Linked DNA regions of Homo sapiens: regions 1, 2, 3, 4, 5 and 7 are each linked to region 6. Evidence: promoter capture Hi-C in 16 types of primary human blood cells and fetal thymus (Javierre and others, 2016). All regions are on one chromosome and are shown on one strand. The core of a region is centred on a gene start or on the middle of the fragment in contact, and the rest is flanking DNA. Distances in the headings are between cores, read along the strand shown. Region 1 has its middle 7.5 kb from the start of FAM200B. Region 2 overlaps FBXL5 (F-box and leucine rich repeat protein 5). Region 3 has its middle 27 kb from the start of HS3ST1. Region 4 has its middle 8.0 kb from the start of BST1. Region 5 has its middle 30 kb from the start of CD38. Region 6 holds the start of RAB28 (RAB28, member RAS oncogene family). Region 7 overlaps CC2D2A (coiled-coil and C2 domain containing 2A).

Evidence for each region. Contacts are between HindIII fragments. The CHiCAGO score rates a contact against its expected background, and 5 or more counts as called.
Region 1: a contact is called between a fragment that was not itself captured here and the fragment with the promoter of RAB28 in region 6, in 8 of 17 cell types (non-activated CD4 T cells, total CD4 T cells, naive B cells and 5 more). The highest score is 14.4, in non-activated CD4 T cells.
Region 2: a contact is called between a fragment that was not itself captured here and the fragment with the promoter of RAB28 in region 6, in 9 of 17 cell types (naive CD8 T cells, naive CD4 T cells, total CD4 T cells and 6 more). The highest score is 18.2, in naive CD8 T cells.
Region 3: a contact is called between a fragment that was not itself captured here and the fragment with the promoter of RAB28 in region 6, in 1 of 17 cell types (total CD4 T cells). The highest score is 8.9, in total CD4 T cells.
Region 4: a fragment that was not itself captured here is called in contact with the fragment with the promoter of RAB28 in region 6 in 5 of 17 cell types (total CD8 T cells, non-activated CD4 T cells, naive CD4 T cells and 2 more); the score reaches 9.4 in total CD8 T cells.
Region 5: a contact is called between a fragment that was not itself captured here and the fragment with the promoter of RAB28 in region 6, in 5 of 17 cell types (naive CD8 T cells, activated CD4 T cells, non-activated CD4 T cells and 2 more). The highest score is 10.4, in naive CD8 T cells.
Region 7: a contact is called between a fragment that was not itself captured here and the fragment with the promoter of RAB28 in region 6, in 1 of 17 cell types (naive CD4 T cells). The highest score is 6.7, in naive CD4 T cells.

The regions. Positions count from the first base shown.
Region 1 is chr4:15,672,993-15,675,692 of GRCh38, reverse strand. It overlaps a transcript of FBXL5 not described here and a transcript of FAM200B not described here. Among named protein-coding and RNA genes, the nearest start is that of FAM200B, 7.5 kb to the left of the region's middle. The HindIII fragment of the contact is 8,677 bases long and covers 1-2,700 here.
Region 2 is chr4:15,646,163-15,648,906 of GRCh38, reverse strand. All of the region lies in intron 1 of FBXL5 (F-box and leucine rich repeat protein 5), which reads left to right. It also overlaps a transcript of FAM200B not described here. Among named protein-coding and RNA genes, the nearest start is that of FBXL5, 7.8 kb to the left of the region's middle. RefSeq lists silencers at 150-249, 1,518-1,743. The HindIII fragment of the contact is 8,302 bases long and covers 1-2,744 here.
Region 3 is chr4:11,454,259-11,456,958 of GRCh38, reverse strand. No RefSeq gene overlaps it. Among named protein-coding and RNA genes, the nearest start is that of HS3ST1, 27 kb to the right of the region's middle. The HindIII fragment of the contact is 2,037 bases long and covers 378-2,414 here.
Region 4 is chr4:15,693,733-15,696,432 of GRCh38, reverse strand. No RefSeq gene overlaps it. Among named protein-coding and RNA genes, the nearest start is that of BST1, 8.0 kb to the left of the region's middle. RefSeq lists an enhancer at 702-1,298. The HindIII fragment of the contact is 872 bases long and covers 1,003-1,874 here.
Region 5 is chr4:15,746,562-15,749,261 of GRCh38, reverse strand. It overlaps a transcript of BST1 not described here. Among named protein-coding and RNA genes, the nearest start is that of CD38, 30 kb to the left of the region's middle. The HindIII fragment of the contact is 683 bases long and covers 969-1,651 here.
Region 6 is chr4:13,482,941-13,485,747 of GRCh38, reverse strand. It overlaps RAB28 (RAB28, member RAS oncogene family), which reads left to right and starts at 1,408. Exons shown (of 7, transcript NM_001017979.3): 1 at 1,408-1,672. The coding sequence starts at 1,598. It overlaps LOC105374495 (a long non-coding RNA gene), which reads right to left and starts at 1,299. Exons shown (of 3, transcript XR_925413.1): 1 at 794-1,299. RefSeq lists silencers at 947-1,006, 969-1,263, 1,257-1,876 and enhancers at 1,147-1,266, 526-1,433, 1,229-1,523. The HindIII fragment of the contact is 2,971 bases long and covers 1-2,173 here.
Region 7 is chr4:15,544,883-15,547,660 of GRCh38, reverse strand. The region is part of intron 17 of CC2D2A (coiled-coil and C2 domain containing 2A); the gene reads right to left. Among named protein-coding and RNA genes, the nearest start is that of CC2D2A, 76 kb to the right of the region's middle. The HindIII fragment of the contact is 154 bases long and covers 1,229-1,382 here.

The DNA of each region.
Region 1 (2,700 bases), core at 48-2,547, 2.2 Mb before region 6:
GGAGAATTGCTCGAACCTGGGAGGCAGAGGTTGCAGTGAGCTGAGATGGCGCCATTGCACTGCAACTTGGGCAGCAAGAGCAAAACTCTGCCTCAAAAAAAAAAAAAAAAAAAAAAAAAATAGGAGTTTTGTGACCGAGAAGTTAAGACATAGTGAAGGTTCAACTCCTTGAGTGGTTCTGTTTTTGCACTGCCTGTGTGGTAGCTAAGACTTGAATTTGAAAGTAATAGTTAGAGGGGTTAGATAGGATCTAAGCCTGAAGGCTGGTAAATCCAGGATAGGAACAATGCAAGAAAATCTTTATATACTATAGTAGTAGTTGGTCATTTAGTCCTAAATAATTTTTATTTGTGGTACTTATTCACCTCATTTTTATATACTAGTATTTTGCTTCCCATATTAATTTCTACTTGTCTTATAAATGTTAAGTATAAATTAATCTTAATTTGAAGAAAATGAATTATGGAACAAAATATAGGAAGTGAAAACTAGAGGGAGGTAGCTTTCCTCTATAAATTATGTGACTTAACATAAAAAATCAATGATGTGGAAAAGTCTTCTACAAGCCTGGTTACACATCACAGAAATACCTTACAGTTGCTTCATCTGTTTTGATGCATAAAGTGTTTTGTAGTGGCAGGCCCACTGCTTTTTTTTTCGTGATTCCTAGTGAACTGATGGGAATTTGTGCAAACAATGATTGTAGGTATATGACAAATTAATTTATCATTAAAAACCATAACCGACTGGGTGCGGTGGCTCGTGCCTGTAATCCCAGCACTTTGGGAGGCCGAGGCAGACGGATCACAAGGTCAGGAGATCGAGACCATCCTGGCTAACACGGTGAAACCCCGTCTCTACTAAAAACACAAAAAATTAGCCAGGCATGGTGGCATGCGCCTGTAGTCCCAGCTACTAGGGAGGCTGAGGCAGGAGAATAGTGTGAACGTGGGAGGCGGAGCTTGCAGTGAGCCAAGATCGCGTCACTGCACTCCAGCCTGGGCGACAGAGTGAGACTCTGTCTCAAAAAAAAAAAAACCCAAAAATCCCATAACGTTGATAATCTTCTAAGATGATAGAAATGAGTTGATAAGGAGAAAAGAAGGTTTTATGATTAAAATGAAAGTTTCATGAGTAATAATTTTGTAAGGAAAAAAGTTATGATTACATATAATTTCACTAATATATAAACGTAAAATGGAGAAATAATCCCAAATAAATACAATATAATAAAAATTGGGGGACATTTTATTTAAAGTGATGAGTGTGCTATGTATTCATAAGTTGATTTCAGTTTGGGATCTCAAGTGCAGTTCTCACATACCCAGTACAGTGTTAACTCTGTTTCTTTGTTTTTATGGGTTAAGAATTAAAAGTACCAATAGCGGTACTACATTCATGCCACTTAGCAATGAACAATCCTATTTCCTCCAAAAGAATGATACATCATTATGACATAGGGCTAGAGAATTAAAAAAAAAAAAAAAACACGATGCATTTGATATTTCATAATCATTCTTTAGTATTTCCAGAGAAGTAAGCTACAATATTTCCTATTCTGCAGGCACCAAGCATAACTCAGTTTTTGATTCAGAGTGTTGGAAAACAAATCTATCCAGTTTTTTCCTTGAATGTATCAATTTTTGTTCTGGCATGTAATGGTTAAAAGTTTGATACAGGCCAGAAACAATAAAAAATGGACAAAATATATAAAACAATGTTTTCCAAGATATTGGATATCAGGCAATGAAGGACAGTGAACCTTGATCAATAGGAAACAAAGTGAGTCCTATGATTGCCTCAGTTTATTGCCTTGGGAGAATTTCTAAGCCATAGTACAGGGAGAGGGGAACATATGCAGCCTAGTGGAATCCCTCTGTTGATAGAGCCTGGAGCCTGGTGAAACCAGTGCAGCCAGAGTTTGCTAGAAGGGAGAGAGCTGCATAGAGAGAGAATTCTAGTGATCTGGAATGAATCTCTCCTGATTCTTCAGGTAAGTATTGATCACTGTATGCATGTGAGGAAATGACCTGAGGCCAAGGAAAGGATCATCCAAAAATATTACAGTACAGTCTTGGATCACATAAAGACATTTTGTTCAATGATAGACTTCATAAGATTATAATGGAGCTGGAAAATTCCTACCACCTAGTGATGTCATAGATCTCAATGATGATGTCTTATGTGTCTGTGGTGATGCTGGTCTACTGTCTTGCTGATACATTTATCCTTATTTTATCTTTATTTTTTTTGAGATGAGGTCTCACTCTGTTGCCCAGGGTGGAGTAGAGTAGTGCAATCTTGGCTCACTGCAGCCTCGACCTTCTGGGCTCTGGTGATCCTCCCACCTCAGCCTCCCAAGTAGCTGGGACTACAGGCACGGGTCAACACACCCGGCTAATTTTTTGTATTTTTTGTAGAGACAGGATTTTGCCATGTTGTCCAGGCTGGTTTCAAACTTGTGGGCTCAAGCGATCCAGCTACCTCGGCCTCCCAAAGTGCTTATTACAGGTGTGAGCCATTGCACCTGCCCTATTGTTATTTTAGAGTATACTTTTTCTACCTATGTATATTTTCAAAAGTTAACCGTAAAACAACTTCAGACAGATCCTTCAAAGTATTACAGACGAAGGCATTGTTATCATAGATGACAGCTTTGTGCATGTTATTGCCCTTGAAGACCTTCCAGGGTGACAAAAT
Region 2 (2,744 bases), core at 149-2,648, 2.2 Mb before region 6:
ACATCCATCACCACAAACGATTACCCTTTGTGTGGGAGTGGTAAAGACACAGAGGATGTACTCTCAGCAAATTTCAAGTACATAATACAGTATTATTAGCTATAGTCACCATACTGTACCTTATATCCCCAGAACGTACTCATCTTAGAACTGAAAGTTAGTGTTCTTTTTTCAGCATCTCCCCATTTTCTCCATCCCCTGCCCCAACAACCACCTTTCATATTCTCTGCTTCTGTGAGTTCTACTTTAGATTCCATATATAGTGAGATCATACATTATTTATCTCTCTGTCTCTGGCTTATTTCACTTAGCTGTCTTCCAGGTTCATCTATGTTGTTGCAAATGACAGGATTTCCTTTTTTATGACTGAATAATATTTTATTGTATATATCACATTTTCTTTACTCATTTGTGGACAAGCACTCAGGTTGGCTCCATATCTTGGCTATTATGAATAATGCTGCATTGAACATGGGAGTGCAGATATCTCTTAGAGATCCTAATTTTATTTACTTTGAACATATACTCAGGAATGGGATTGCTGGAACTTATGAAAATTACATTTTTAATTTTTTGAGGAATTTCCATACTGTTTTCCATAATGGCTGTACCAATTCCTTTCTAATGATATTTTATTTTGGTCTGAATACAGAATTAATAACAGAAAAGCCTACTAAATAAGCCTTACAGATGCCTAGGTAGGGCTTATATTCTGTGTTCTTTATATTAACTTATTAAATTATCACAGGTAGCCAGGTGCAGTGGCTTGTGCCTATAATCTCAGCAACTCAGGATGCTGAGTCAGGAGGATCGCTTGAAGCCAGGACTTTAAGACCAGCTTGGCCAACATAGTGAGACCCCGTCTCTAAAAAATAAAAAAGTAACTGGGTGTGGTGCACACCACACCTGTAGTTCCAGCTATTCGGAAGGCTGAGGCCAGCAGGAGGATCACTTGAGCCCAGGAGTTTGAGGTTGCAGTGAGCTATGATCATGCCACTGCACTGCAGCCTGGGTGTCAGAGCAAGACCCTGTCTCAAAAAAATTCTCACAAGAACTCTGTGAAGTAGTTAATATTATTAGCCCTGTTTTACAGATGAAGAAACTGAGGTACAAAGAAATGTAATGACTTGCTGGTAGAATGGATTTACACCTAGGCAATCTTGCCCTAGAGTCAGTGCTTTTAACTACTGTGCTAGGTTAGCTGGATATAGATTCTACCTGTAATTTAGAGTCTCTTTATATAGTTACTATAGTTAATTTGACTGTCAGTTTGTGGCATGAAACTAATCTTTACCTTAATGTGTTATTAGATCTAAAAGAATTTCTAATAGTCTAATGAGAATATATGCAAAATTCCCTGTATGTCTTTTAATATATTATTTTTCTTAACTCATGTTAGGGCATTACAGTCTTCCCTTGGTATCCTCCTATTTTGTGGGAGATTGTTTTCAGGACACCCATGAATACCAAACTCCATAGATGCTCAAGTCCCTCAGATAAAATAGCATAGTATTTGCATGTAACTTACACATATCTTCCCATACACTTTAAATCATCTTTAGATTACTTATAATACATAATACAGTGAAAATGCTATGTATGTAGTTGTTATATTGTTTTTTGTTGTTGTTGTTTATTTTTATTTTTTTCAACATTTTCTTTCTTTTTTTTTTTTTTTTTTTTTGAGATGGAGTCTTGCTTTGTTGCCCAGGCTGGAGTGCAGTGGCATGATCTCGGCTCACTGCAACCTCTGCCTCCTGGGTTCAAGTGATTCTCCTGTCTCAGCCTCCCGAGTAGCTGGGACTACAGGTGCACACCACCACTCCCTGCTAATTTTTGTGTTTTTAGTAGAGATGGGGTTTCACCATGTTGGTCAGGCTGGTCTCGAACTCCTGACCTCAGGTAATCCACTCACCTCAGCCTCTCAAAGTGCTGGGATTACAGGTGTGAGCCACCATGCCCAGCCTTTTTCAATCCACAGTTGGTTGAATCTGTGGTTTCTGCATCCCCACGGAGGCTGACTGTGTTTACTTTTTGCCATTAAAAAAATAATATCTAGAAGCTGGAAACCATCATTCTCAGCAAACTGTCGCAAGGACAAAAAAACCAAACACCGCATGTTCTCACTCATAGTGGGAATTGAACAATGAGAACAACATGGACGTGGGAAGGGGAACATCACACACCGGGGCCTGTTGTGGGGTGGGGGGAGGGGGAGGGATAGCATTGGGAGATATACCTAATGTTAGATGACGGGTTAATGGGTGCAGCACACCAACATGGCACATGTATACATATGTAACAAACCTGCACGTTGTGCACATGTACCTAAAACTTAAAGTATAATAATAATAATAATAAAAAATATTTAGCATTAATGGTTTCTTTTGATTTTGTACCCTGCTTCTACTAAGGCTATTTTTAAGTTTGCCTTTTTTTTTTTTTCCAAAAAATGATACATGATAGTGTTTGCAGAGATTAGCCACCAATAGATTTTATTGTAATCTTGTGGGGCATTTCTTATGATTTAAAAAAAAATCTATAATATGTATTTAACCAAGTATGTCCTGCCTGTGTTTTTTGTGTGGCTTAAGAGCCAAGCATCACTTTTACATTTTTAAATAGTTGGAAAAAATCAAAAGAAGAATAGTATTTTGTGACATGTGAAAAATTATATGAAATTTGAATTTCAGTGTTTATAAAGTTTTATGGAAATACAGCTACAGTCATTCATTTACATGTTG
Region 3 (2,700 bases), core at 147-2,646, 2.0 Mb after region 6:
GGGACAGAAAGACAGAAATAACTGAAAAAAAAATGACTTATATTCAAGGTCATGAAGTTCACAACTACATTTCTAATTTAGCTTTAAGATTAATCAAGCATTTTAATTTTTTCCACTAAAATATGCCTAACTTAGACTTTAACCCATCACCCAAACTGTAATTGTGCCCCATTTTATTTTTACTTTCTTTTTATGTCTCATTGACCAATGTGACTTTGTAATCACTTTATTGACCCTAAAGAATTCAAAGCACCTCATAAACAGCCTCTATTTATTCTCCCTCACCTGTCACTATATCTATGAAACAATTCATCCCCTTATATACATGTCGTGAGCATCAACACATTCCAATTCCATGGAGTCATATTTCACAAGCTTATGGCCCAATTTTCTAAAGATGCAATTAACAGGCTGAGTGACCTTTACCTTCATCTATAATCTTAAAAAAAAAATACTAAGTAAGAAAAAGAGAAAGTCAGGTCTTGAATGTTATGATTCAGGGTCATGAAAGGTCCAAGATCAAATCTGCTGTGTTACTTAAAGTGTCTTCACAGGATGAATATGAAGGGAAAGACGACGTAACTATCCTATAAGAAACATGACACCGAACCTCATTCAGCCAGGTTTTTTTTGTTGTTTTTTTTTTTTTTTTTCTTTTTCTTGAGACGGAGTCTTGCTCTGTCGCCCAGGCTGGAGTGCAGTGGCGCGATCTCGGCTCACTGCAAGCTCCGCCTCCTGGGTTCACTCCATTCTCCTGCCTCAGCCTCCTCCTCAGTAGCTGGGATTACAGGCGCCCGCCACCACGCCCGGCTAATTTTTATGTATTTTTTAGTAGAGACGGGGTTTCACCGTGTTAGCCAGGATGGTCTTGATCTCCTGACCTCATGATCTGCCCGCCTCGGCCTCCCAAAGTGCTGTTATTACAGGCATGAGCCACAGCGCGCAGCCCCAATTTTTTTTTCCCATCTGAACCTGAAGATTAAAAGAGTTAAACTGCATAAAAGCACTTTATAAATTTAAACCATGTATAAGTTGTCAGAATTTTTACTACAAATTACCAACCATGATACTGATTGAGTTAATTCAAGCATTAAGCTGTTAAGATGATCACATAAGTGCAGTCAGCAAGTCCTCACAAACTGTATATCCTGGATTTCCAGTTTAGTGCTTTATTCACCAGATTATGCAGCATTCCAGATATGAAAATGAATTCCATGGATGAGAAGTAATCATTCAGCCATGGGCCAGGCTATCATCTTTCCCTGCACACCTGCCTGGAAGAGATTCAACAGGAAAGGCCTCACTTACCTGAGATAAAGGCCAGTCCAGGAAGGACTGTGATGCCAGGTGCTTTACCCATAAACAGTACAGCACATGGCTGCATTAAAGTTGTAAGGCACGCAAGCCTTACTGGCCTATTTTATTCATTCCAGTTTCCAGGGCTAACACTCCAAACTCCGATTCAGAGGTATACCTTTGTTTTCATTCGAACATAACCAAAGAAAGAAAGCTCATGATACAGCAGTTTCATTACATTATGCAAATTTTTATGCTCCCATTTCCTCTTGTGTTTTACAGGTCGTACTTTACTTACAGGGAAGGAGAATACAGCTCAGAAAAGAGAGAGTAATCAAAGGGGGAGCATGAAAACAAACAAAGGAAGCAGTCTGCACTCAATCACAGCGATGTGATTGGAAGGGTGATAAGGGATAAAGGGCCACAAACTCACTGTCACAATTGCCATTATGTGACATCACTGATCATAGTTAGCTTTAGTTAAGCTATGTCTCTTTGGCTCAAGAATAAAGAGCATGCACTGCAAATAATAAATAATTCCTGTAAATTTACTTTTAATTTACATGCAATAAAGTGTCCTCCTCCTTTTCTTCTTCTTCTCTTCTTCTTCTTCTTCCTCTTCTTCTCCTTCTTCTTCTTCTTCTTCCCTTCTTCTTCTTCTTCTTCTTCTTCTTCTTCTTCTTCTTCTTCTTCTTCTTCTTCTTCTTCTTCTCCTTCTCCTTCTTCTCCTTCTTTCTCCTTCTCCTCCTCCTCCTCCTTCTCTTTCTTTTTGTCTTTCTTCTTCCTTCTTCTTCTTGAGGCAGGGTCTTACTTTGTCACTGGGGCTGGAATACAATGGCGTGTTCTCAACTCACTGCAACCTCCACTTCCTGGGCTCAACCAATTCTCCCACCCCAGTAGCTGGGACTAACAGGTGCATGCCTTTATGCCTGGCTAATTTTGCATTTTTTTGTAGAGACAGCATTTCCCCATGTTGCCCAGGCTGGTCTTGAACTCCTATGCTCTAGCAATCCTCCATCCTCAGCCTCTCTAAGTGCTGGGATTACAGGCGTGAGCCACCGTGCCCAGCCTCCTTCTTCTGATACACAGTTTTTGTTCATTTGTTTGAAATAGAAGCTTGCTCTGTTGCTCAAGCTGGAGTGCAGTGGCACAATCATGGCTCAATGTAGTCTCACACTCCTGGGTTCAAGTGATTCTCTTGACTTAGCCTCTCATGTAGCTTGGACTACAGGCATATGCCAATCATAATTAGCCATGCCTGGCTAATTTTTTGTTTGTTTGTTTGTTTGTATTTTAGTAGCTATGAGGTCTTGTTATGTTGCATAAGATGATTTCCAACTGGGTTTAAGGGATCCTCCCACGTCAGTCTCCCAAAGTGCTGGGATTACAGGCATGAGCCACTGC
Region 4 (2,700 bases), core at 189-2,688, 2.2 Mb before region 6:
CTACATGTTGCTATTATTTATGCTCTTGGGGATATTTATATCTATTTTATTTTGGGTCTACGTACCAAAAGCCAAAAACCAAATTTATATATTGACATTCATCAAAGCTAAGAAATTCTGCTCTTCAAAAAACACCACTAAGAAAATGAGCAATCCACAAATTGGGATGTACTTGCAATACATGTATCTGACAAAGGCATGTATGTAAAAAACAGGGTTGTCCAATCTTGTGGCTTCCCTGGGCCACATTGGAATAACCCACACATAAAAAACACTAACACTAACATAAGACTAACACTAACTTCAGCCACACATAAAAAGCACTAGCATTAGCTGATGAGCTTAAAAAAAAAAAAGAAAAAGTTCTGTGTGTTACATGTAGTTAGACAGGCATGAGTGCAGCAGGAGAGGGCTCTTCCCCCACCCACTAGGAATGTCGGGTGTTGGTTTGGCACTTATTACATTGCCTCTTTAAAAGTGATAAATTGGCAGCTGACACCAGGGAGAGGCCATTTCCTTATGGTCCACACCTGCGGCACTAAACGGTTAATTGAATGCAGAGACCAGGGAAAAGCAACTTCCAGGGCATGTACATTAAGAGACAAAATGGTGGAGTATGACCTTCCAGGGGCACTCCCCTGGAAAATGGAAGAAAGCCTCAGATGGCATGCATACAGCTTCCTAAACACATTGTGCATGCTCACCTCCCAAGTACATTAAATAAAAGCAGTTGTTATGCTTGTGTGCATGGCCGGCTGGAGGCCCAGAGAGTCCCCTTTCCACTCGGATGGTCTCCCAGTCGACCGGGCATGGGCTGCATGGTAGCTCTCTTCCAGGATTCTACGGCTTGGGGCAACAAATCATGCCAGGCTCTCTCTCTGCTATATCCCGAAGTCCAACACCCTGCGAGTCAGCCCCCGAGGACCACTCAGCTTCCTTTTCCCGTCAATTTCACCTTGTGTCTGTCACCACAGGGGGAGAATTTGGCATTCCTTGGAAGCTTAATGGGATGCCGTGAGCTTAAGCCTTTCCAGGAGCTTACTCATCAGTCTGCCCTTAGTCATCCTCAAACAGATGTATGGTGGTATTGTGGTGAACACTTACTGGACACTCTGCCAGGTAACTGGAGTGGTACTTACACTCTTGTCTAATTGGCTATCCCTTTCACCCTGACATTTCATCAACCAGAAAAAGAAAAACCACAACACCTCCCCCGCCAAAAAAAAAAAAAGAAGAAGAAAAGCCTCTTATGGATCTTTTGACTCTCAAGTTAACATAGACGTCATTGGAGTCCCACAAGAAGTGCCTAACAGATTCAAAGTCCATGACCAAATAGCTGCAGAATTTAAATCCATATTTCCACAGGTAACTATTAATAAAAATGTGGCTTGGATAAATTACATCTATTATAATCAGCAACAGTTTATTAATTACACCAAGGATGCTATCAAAGGAATAGCTGACCAATTAAGGCCTACTAGCCAAATGACTTGGGAAAACAGAATAGCTCTAGACATGTTATTAGCCAAAAAAGGTAGGGTTTGTGTTATAATTAAAACCCAATATTGCACCTTCATCCCAAACAACACTGCTCCCAATGGAAGCATAACAAAGGCCTTGCAGGGATTTACTGCTTTATCCAATGCATTAACTAAAAATTCTGAAGTCAATGACCCTATTTCAGAATGGCTAGGAAAGTGGTTTGGTAAATATAAAGGAAACATAGCCTCAATTCTTATTTCTCTTGCAATCGTACTAGACGAACTCGTTAGGTGATGTGTCATACCATGCATCCATAGGCAAATACAAAAGATTGTACAAACAGCACTTACTAAAGCCTCCCTTAGTTCTCCTCCACCTTATTCAAGTAAGCTTTTCCTTTTAGAAGATCAAAACAAACGGCAAAGCCAAGACATGTTAAAGAGTTTGAAGAGAAAAATCATAAGAAAATTTAAAAGGGAGGAGTTGTAAGATACAATGAATTTCTCTGAGTTTCTCTTCAAAAATGTAGCCTGCTAACTTCCTTGTCTTTTGTTCTCAAACTCAACTTTCCTGTTCCTCCTTGTCCCTAGTTACTGTAAAACAGCCTACCCCTTTTCTGTCATCCCTAATCAATAACTCACATCTATTCCCTTGGTTACCTGCACCCATTGTGTCCCTGAAACTGCACGTCTCACATGCTCCACCTCTGTAGCTCACGTCCCCCTCCCCTTTTATATTTAGAAAAATATGTACAAGTAGCCAATAGGGTCAGCTCAGATTGTGCAGTCTGACCCTACCCATGGGGGAGGGACACAGAAGTAGGAATTGCGTTAAGGATATAAAAACCCCCCAGTCTCCTTTGTTCTCTGTGCTCTTGCGATCTTAGTTGATGCAAGTGGCACCCTTCTGCAGAAGTCAATTGCCTTGCTGACAGGATTAAACTTTTGCCTGACTGCTGGTTTTACTTCACGGCACCGAGCATTTATTCCTCGAGCTTTTTATATCCAACAAACTCAAAAATAAGAAAAACAACCACATCTTAAAATTGGCAAAATAGTTAAACAAATGCCTCACCAAAGAAGATATTCCATTCCTAGGTATTTACCAAAGGAAAAATGAAAATACATCTATGCAAAGATTTGTGCCCATGTTTGTAGAAGCTTAATTCGTAACTCAAAACAGTAAACAATGCAAATGTCCAACAACAATATATTAATA
Region 5 (2,700 bases), core at 61-2,560, 2.3 Mb before region 6:
TCCAATGGGAAGCACCTGTGACTGCCTGAGAGCCTTCTCTGACTTCCAATACCTGTTCTGCCCCCACACGGGGCAGCCTGGAAGTGTCAGGAATTAATATCCTTCCTGGGAGTGCCCTCAACCAATGACTGGCAGGAATGAAGGATAGACACCTCAGCTTCCCCATGTCTTTGATTAATTAACTCTGAGAAATTTGCTACACTGTCAGCCAAAGGTCCCCGCAGGATTAAGCTCCAGTTGCCCTCAGTGACAACTTGCTTGGTAATGTGTCCTTTATGGGCTGCTTCCCTCCCTCGTCTCATCCTCCCTTCCTCTGGTGTGCTGTGGCATTTCAATTACTGCGACTCTTGCATGAAGTGAGCTATGATGGAAGAAAGAGAAAGAGATGCACTGACTTACACGCTATTATAGCAACTGAGAGATGTCATAAAATGGTAATCATAAGGAATGTGGAATTAGCTGTTGCTTTCCACTACCATCATGTGCTAAGGGAAGAAAACAACAGGATCAGATCAACTACCAACTATCAACTCGGGTGTAGTGTGAAGTCAGAAGACCTCAATGGCCCTCAACATTGAAGGAGCCCCTCACCCCCTGCAGCCAGAGGGCAGACTGTGCGAAAATCCTACAAGCACAGCATGTTCATTATGATCACAGCAGAATAATCAAGAAACTTTGGTCTCTATTCCCAGCCCTGGCAGATATCCTTCATTAAAGTCAAGGCCTTTGTGGGGAGAGAGTAAGACCCTGAGATGGGATGGGGACATCTTTGCCTATGAAATGGCACACCTTGAACCCCTAGATTCCCATGACCCCCCAGAGAGTTGGCAGGAGTCGCTTTCTCCCCCTCTTACTGAAGGATAGCAGCTCCCTTTGCCTGGAAACTGTGCACAGCCTTGCATTGCAAGAGGGTGCTTGCCTCTTCAGAACCTGTCTCCCTTCACTGCTTCTAGACAAATAACTAAGCTTCAGTATCGGCACCATGCTCCTGGGAAATACTGTCCCTTATTTTGGAGAAAAGGGATTGTTAACCAAAAGAATTGTAGGATCTGCCTAAATATATGTCAGGAATTGGGAAAGCACGCATGAGAATGGTGTTGGACTGATAATGGTGGTACGTAATATACAAGGCTGGATAAGAAAGAATGAGTTGATAAAAGGGTACTCTCTCATGAGTCAAAGTTTAATGACCTGGCAAGGCACTTAGAGCTGGTCCTAATACAACTGTAGGAATGGCTCATTGAAATCTGGAGAAAAGAAGGCCTGAAATAAATGAGATAAGGTTGGCTGGACACAGTGGCTCATGCCTGTAATCCCAACACTTTAGGAGGCCAAGGAAGAAGGATTGCTTGAGGCCAGGAATTCGAGACCAGCCTTGGCAACATAGCAAGACCACATCTCTACAAAAAATAAGAATTTAAAATATTAGCTGGGCATGGTGACTTGTGCCTGTAGTCCTAGCTACTCAGGAGACTGAGGAAGGAAGATCACATGAGCCTAAGAATTTGAGGCTGCAGTGAGCCATGATGGGACCACTGTGCTCCAGCCTGGGAGAAGGTAGGAACTTGTCTCTAATAAATAAATAAATAAATGTTTTTAAAAACTAGATAAGATTTATTTACTACTGTGCTTTGGCTCAGGGAGATAAGCTTACTCCAAAGAATGACATAGAATAACACAGCTCGCTGACAATGTTTCCAAGAGAGTCCAAGAAGACAGTCTTCATTAAAACAGTAAAGAATGTGATGGTGATGGGGGTACTGGCTTCACGGAAAAACTCCGAAGTGGTTTATATTCTGAAGGCCAGGATTGATGGTAGTGATATCATTATGGGACTGGGATTCCTAGTACCAAGAAGCAAAATAGGATTCCAGAATAGTGGAGGCTTGGTGGCAGCAAGGCAGCCATGACTACTATAATGGCATAAAGGCAGCATGGCAAACAGGGGCCTGACAGGCACGAATCTGAGACTGTGGTTAATATATCCCATGGTTCCTAAGAGCTCTTAGATGTGCAGTTGATAAGGATATTGCTTGACCTTTACAATCAAAAGTGATCAGGAGCAAGAGAGCCAAATGTTGATGATGTCAGCTACCACAATGGACGATCACAGTCTGATACCCAGTTCCCAGACTGGTGTCTGGAACCTCAGGCCCAGATTTAATCACTTAAGGGAGAGGAAGTCCTGTAAGCCACAGCAAGCATATAACATAGTGATTCTCCCAACCCTTCCCCAAAGGGACCCATACCCATTTGTTGGAGTTCCTGTGCATTTGGAGGAATGGAATACTCAGATCTTCTGATGGCTTGATCACAGAGTCTGAGCTGTCACTGCTACAAGACCCAAAACACAATCATGGGCCCCCTCAGTTAAATAAGGACTTACTGAGGCTAGATGACAAATGGACTCCAGAACTAAGTTTATCAGCACCCATGCTGTGATCATGTCCCTAGCCCCCTCTCACATTTGTTTTTTGACCTGTGGAGTAAGAGCCTTTATAGTAGGAAAGATGAAGTAAACACCCCTGAAGGTGACCACCATTCCAGAGCAATACCACATCCTAGGTTCCTATGGTTTGAATGTTCCCTCCAAACTTATGATGAGATTCAATTGTCACAGTAACCATATTAAGGGGTGGGGCCTTTAAGAGGCAGAGCCTTCATGAAGGGATTAATGGTGTTATCACAGGAGTGGGTTGG
Region 6 (2,807 bases), core at 159-2,658:
TTATTTCATTTAATTTTCAAACCTACACAAAGGCAGTAGTCTGTTCTACAGGTGAACTAACTGAGGCTCGAGGACACATATCTAGTAAACATGAGATTAAACTCCAGTGATGCCTCTAGGTCTGGGCATTTCTTTACACTGTTCTGCTTTCCTGTTCTAATGCCCATATGGTCTCCAAGACTACTGCCTCTGGGCTAAGCATTTTGTTAACTTAAGATACTTCATCTGCAAAATGGGGATAATTATACTTCATAATTCCTAATAGTAGTAAAGGTAACAATAAATTTTAAGTGATTAACAATGAAACAACCATAGCAGGACAGCATTATTATTTTTGAATTTACCTCACTAAATTGTAAATTTCATTTATGCCGTTTACCTAACGCTCCTGGACTGAGATTATCCAGGGCAGCAGTTCTTAAATTTTTTGGACTCAGGGCCTCTCTATAATGTTAAAGAATTACTGTGACCTCCAAAGAGCTTATGTTTATGTGGGTTACACCTATCACTACTGCATTGAAATGAAAACTGAGAAATGTTTAAAAACAACAAACGCAAGCTCCCTTAGCTGCCAGTGATGACGTCGTACACAAAGCGTATCCTCCAGGAAACGGTATACTAGTGAGAGAAGGAACGTGAGAAAGACAGACAAGGTGTCCGTATTATTATGAAAATTGTTCTGAGGTCATCGGGATTTCCAGAGGTCCCTAGACCACACTTTATGAGAACTGCTGCCTTAGGGTAAAGATGGGGTGCCAGGAGGTTGGCGATCAGTAGCGTCTGATGAACGAACCATGGGAGCCTGGGGTTGTTCAGATGAGGAAACCAAGAGTTAGGCCGAAATAAGCAGCGCCGGAGCTCCACTGTATTCACGGCCGCTACTGAGGCTTCCCAGCAGCCTCGGCCCTTAGCAGCTGTCCCCTCATCCGCCCCGAGGTACCCTCTTCCCTGGTCCGGTTTTTCAGGGGCCCTCTCTGGCGCTCTCCGCCAGGCTACGGGCGTCCCGGGTGCCCGGAGACAGGCCCCGCCCCGCCGCCGGTCCTCGAACTCCTGGCTGCCAGGCAACCCTGGCGCGTAGCCCGGGCGTCACTGCTCCACCCCGTCAGGCTGAACCATTCCCTTCAGAGACTTTCTCAAGAGGGAAGGAGAAAAGGGAATTTGATGGAACGCCTGAAAGCTGCTCTGCTCCCGTTTTCTCTCCTTAATTTGAACGAACACTTCTTTTCTTCTTCTAGCCAACTGTCTCCTGAAGGGAAACGCAGCGCCTCGCCTCTCCCGCCGGAATGTCCCCCACACCAGTCCAGGGCCGCGAGTGGTTCGGCTCGTCAGGCGGGGCCGCCGGTCGGCGCGGGTTGGCTCTGAGGCGGGGGCGCGCGCCCGACGTGCGCGTAGGGGGCGGGGCCGCGCGCAGAGGGCGGGGAGGTGGGCAAGATGGCGCTTGCCGAGTGATTCTCCTCGAATACCTCCTGCCGGCGCGGAGACACCGGGGCGGGGGTCCTGCCGCAACTACCTCCCTTCCTCCTCTCCCCCGCCCCCGGAGCCTTCATCCTTCCCTTCCCCCCCCACCTCGAGGGGCGGGCCTGGTTCCCGGGACACCATGTCGGACTCTGAGGAGGAGAGCCAGGACCGGCAACTGAAAATCGTCGTGCTGGGGGACGGCGCCTCCGGGAAGGTCAGTCCTCGAGCAGGCCCGCCGTCCCAGGCCTGCAGGAACCCCGGCGGTCCCCGGCCTCCTCCCCGCCGCCCGGCGTCGCCTCGTTACCCCGAGCCCTCGGGCTTCTAGGCCCGGGCCCTTCTGGTTGTGTGGCCTGAGGCCGGACACGAAGTGGGCGCTTGGTGAAGGCCGACGAGAGCTGTCCAGCTCCCCCTTAAAAAAGAGTCACTTCCTAACTCCCCGCCTGGATTGCGAACTCCTGCAAGACTCGGGCCAGCCTTTCAGCTTCCCGCCTCTCAGGACTGGCAGGGATTTGCCAAGGCATCTTAGCTCCTCTTACTTGTAGTCTGGGTCACACTTACTCCTCCCCTCCCACCCCCTTTACCGTTTCTGATGCTTCTACTGCATCGTGAGCTCCCAGGAGCGTAGCTCTGGAATCAGTATTCCCCGGGTGAGAATTGGGGCTCTGCCACTTAGTCGTCGGGTCATTGGAGGGCAAATTGCTAATCAGTTTAAGCTTCATCTGTAAGATGGGTATTGAAAAGGGCCGCCGCAAAGGGAGAAATGTGAAAATACATATTAAATGTGAAAATACACATAAAACCTTTAGAGCACAGTGTCCACTCAGTACACTCTAGTTGCTATTTTAATATCATACCTGTTCATCACCTCTGTTTCCAGCTCAGCACTCGATACAAGCAGTCAGTCAACAAGTGTTTATGGAGCTCCTGTTACGGGTAGGATGCTGAGGGTAGAGCTGCTTGCGTGACAAAAGGGATCCCCTGTTCGAATGAATGAATGCGGGCGTGAGAATATCAGGCAGCGTCAGTCTTATTATCTCCTAGGCAGGGGCTCCTACCCCAAGGCTGTGGAACTCCTGAAATGGAGTAAATACTGCCCGGTACGTGCTCTGGGGAGAGGGTCCATAAGATCTCAGAGGGGTCTATGATCCCTCCACCAGCAAATAGTGAAGAGCCTCTACCCGGATGCCTTCTTTCCCATGCTTCTGTCAAAGGCGCCAACACTTTCTGGGAATATTGCTAAAGTTTATCACCCCTGTACTCCCCTTCCTTATCCCAACCATAGTCTAAAGAAACCCAGGCTTTTATTTCCTGTTTAAGGCTTCACATTTCCCTGTTGCTGGTTGCATTTC
Region 7 (2,778 bases), core at 56-2,555, 2.1 Mb before region 6:
TAATTTAGTTTCATTTTTGTTTTCTCTCAACGATGCTGAGGGTTCTCAGGCCAAGTAATTCTTTGTTGTGGTGAGTTGTATGTTGTAGGATGCTTAGCAGCACCCCTGGCCTCTCACTCATATGTGGGAGCCTAAAAAGCTGATCTTATGTAAGAAAAGAGTAGAATGATGGTTATCAAAGGCTGAGAAGGGAGGAGGTAGAGGAGGAGGATGAAGAGAGGTTCGTTAATGGTATAGAAATATAGTTAGAAGGAGTATGTTCTAGTGTTTGATAGCACAGTAGGGTTACTATAGTTAACAATAACTTACTGTATATTTCAAAATAGCTAGAAGAGAAGATTTAAAATGTCTGCAACACAAATGATAAATGTTTGAGGTAATAGATATTCTAAATACCCTGATTTGATCATTATACATTCTATTCATGTATCAAAATACCACATGTACCCCATAAATACATACAATTATTATGTATCAATAAAAAAGTTTAAAAAATCACAGAATATTGTAAAGGTACAAAAGAAAAGAATCACAAGTTTTGTTTTTCCCATCTAAAATGATAGCATGTAACCAGCATGTTTTTTTCCTGCAGACATTTCTATACCTGTCATTTTGTCAGAGAAATAAAGCAAGGAAGATTTTTTTTTTAATGGGAATTCTCCCATTATAGTACCCATGGCTTTCTTCGGGATAACACGAGATAACATATGTAAATATTGTGTTCCTGCAGTAGACACTTAGTAAACATTTCCTAGAGATTTCCCAGTTTCACAGGCCTTGTCTCATTCAAACCCTCATTGTCTTACCTTTAGATGACCACACCTGTCTTCTTGCCTCATGCAACCCATCTTCCCTGCAGCCGCCACCCGACTTCCTACCAGCCCTCAACCACCTGACCTTTCCAACTGCACACAGCAGGGCTTTCTGGGATCAGCAGTCTGACTTGCTGTCATCCAGTTTAAAGCATGGCAAGTAAGATGTATGTGAAAACATCTGTTTTGGACTTGGGTCCATAAAGAACCAACAGCAACCACAAAAGTGAGGTAGGCGAGGGTAAACAAGGACACTTCTCCAAACATGACTGTTATTCCCACTCTGATAGAGGAGTTATTCCTCAGATGAGCCAGAGAATTAGGAAAGGCCCTGAGAAGAGAAAGCTGGGCCATCACCAAGTAGGTTAAAAGGAGAATTTCCCTATCTCAATCCACATGCCAGGAATACAAAAGCTTAACAGGATTGACTAATAAGGAAAAATGATAATGTTAAAAAATTTAAAAGGCACCCAGCAATATTATACCACTGTTGTTAGTTGTTTTGGTGTTGAGAAGATGAATGTAGGATAAAGTTACAGATGCAAATGACACAAAAATGAAGGCAAAGCTTTTTAAATTTCTAAGCCAAATTTCATTTTTAAAACCCTACATATTTATTTTGGAAAGGCCTCCAAAGCCAAGATTTTCAAGACCTTTCTGGAAGGACTGTGGCCTGGCTCCAACTCCCCTGTCCCATGAAGTCCAATCTCATCCTTCTCTTGGGGCCAATTTTTTTTTTGAGACAGGGTCTCACCCTGTCTCCCAGGCTGGAGTGCAGTGGCGTGATCATGGCTCATTGCAGCCTCAAACTCCCAGGCTTAAGCAATCCTCTTGCCTCAGCCTCCCAAGTAGCTGGGACTAGAGGTATGTACCACCATGCCCAGCTAATTTTTTAAAATTTTTGTGGAGATGGGGTCTCGCTAGGTTGCACAGGGTGGTCTCAAACTTCTGGGCCCAAGCTATCCTTCCGTCTCAGCCTCCCAAAGTGCTGGGATGATAGGTGTGAGCCACTGTGCCTGGCCCAACTCTGATTCTCCCCTTTTTACTTCCTCAAGTTAAACTGTCATCAAGCTCTGTGGATTCCACCAATTCTGGCTCCAATCTTACTTTAATTAATTCCTTCTTCCCATCTTCCCATTTCTACTGCCAGGCCCTGAGCCCATCCCCTCACTCCTGGCTTTCTGTGCCAGCCTTTGGACTTACCTTCTGCTTGTAGAACTGCCTTGGCATTCTTATCTCAAGCCTGGCTAGAAGCTCTGAGCCTTATGGTTACAAACATGCAAGAAATCAAACATCACAGTCTACACTGCTCCTTTCAAAGGTCGTTAACATCTATGCACCAGTGAGTATTGATTCTTTGTAGCTCTCCCTTATATCCTAGCTGGACTGAAACTCCTGAGGCAGGGTCCTATGTGCCCCTCTGTATACATGGCTTCCAATTCTCCACAACACCCTGGCTTAGATACGCAGTTGGCTTTTCACAATCAAGCAGAAAACATTGACCACTTGGTTGCTGAGTTATCAATTGATGCATTATAGTTTTGAGAATCTTAGAACTTTTTCTGAAATATACTATGCTTTAAAGTTAAGAATTTGATAGCATTGGCATTAACAGATGTATTTTAGGTGAGTTTTTCTACCCTCCTAAAGTTGCCAGTAATTCTTCCCTAGTTTAAATCTAGCAATCATGTGGAAAATTTCCAAATAGCAGAGTACTTACTATGACTAGAGACTTGAAATACAGTATCTCCTAGATTAATTTAATCTGTAGTCACTACTCAGTCTTAAAAAACTATGCCATTATGCCATTGTGGTATGAGAGTTGGGCAGTTATCAAATCCCTTTAAATAGCTTAAGAACTTAGTCAAAACTCCCTTAATTTATAACTTTTTAAAAAATTACATGATTTAGTTTTTAGGACCAAGCTTATTGCCTATGAATATATTCTGGATAATATTCTGGGTAA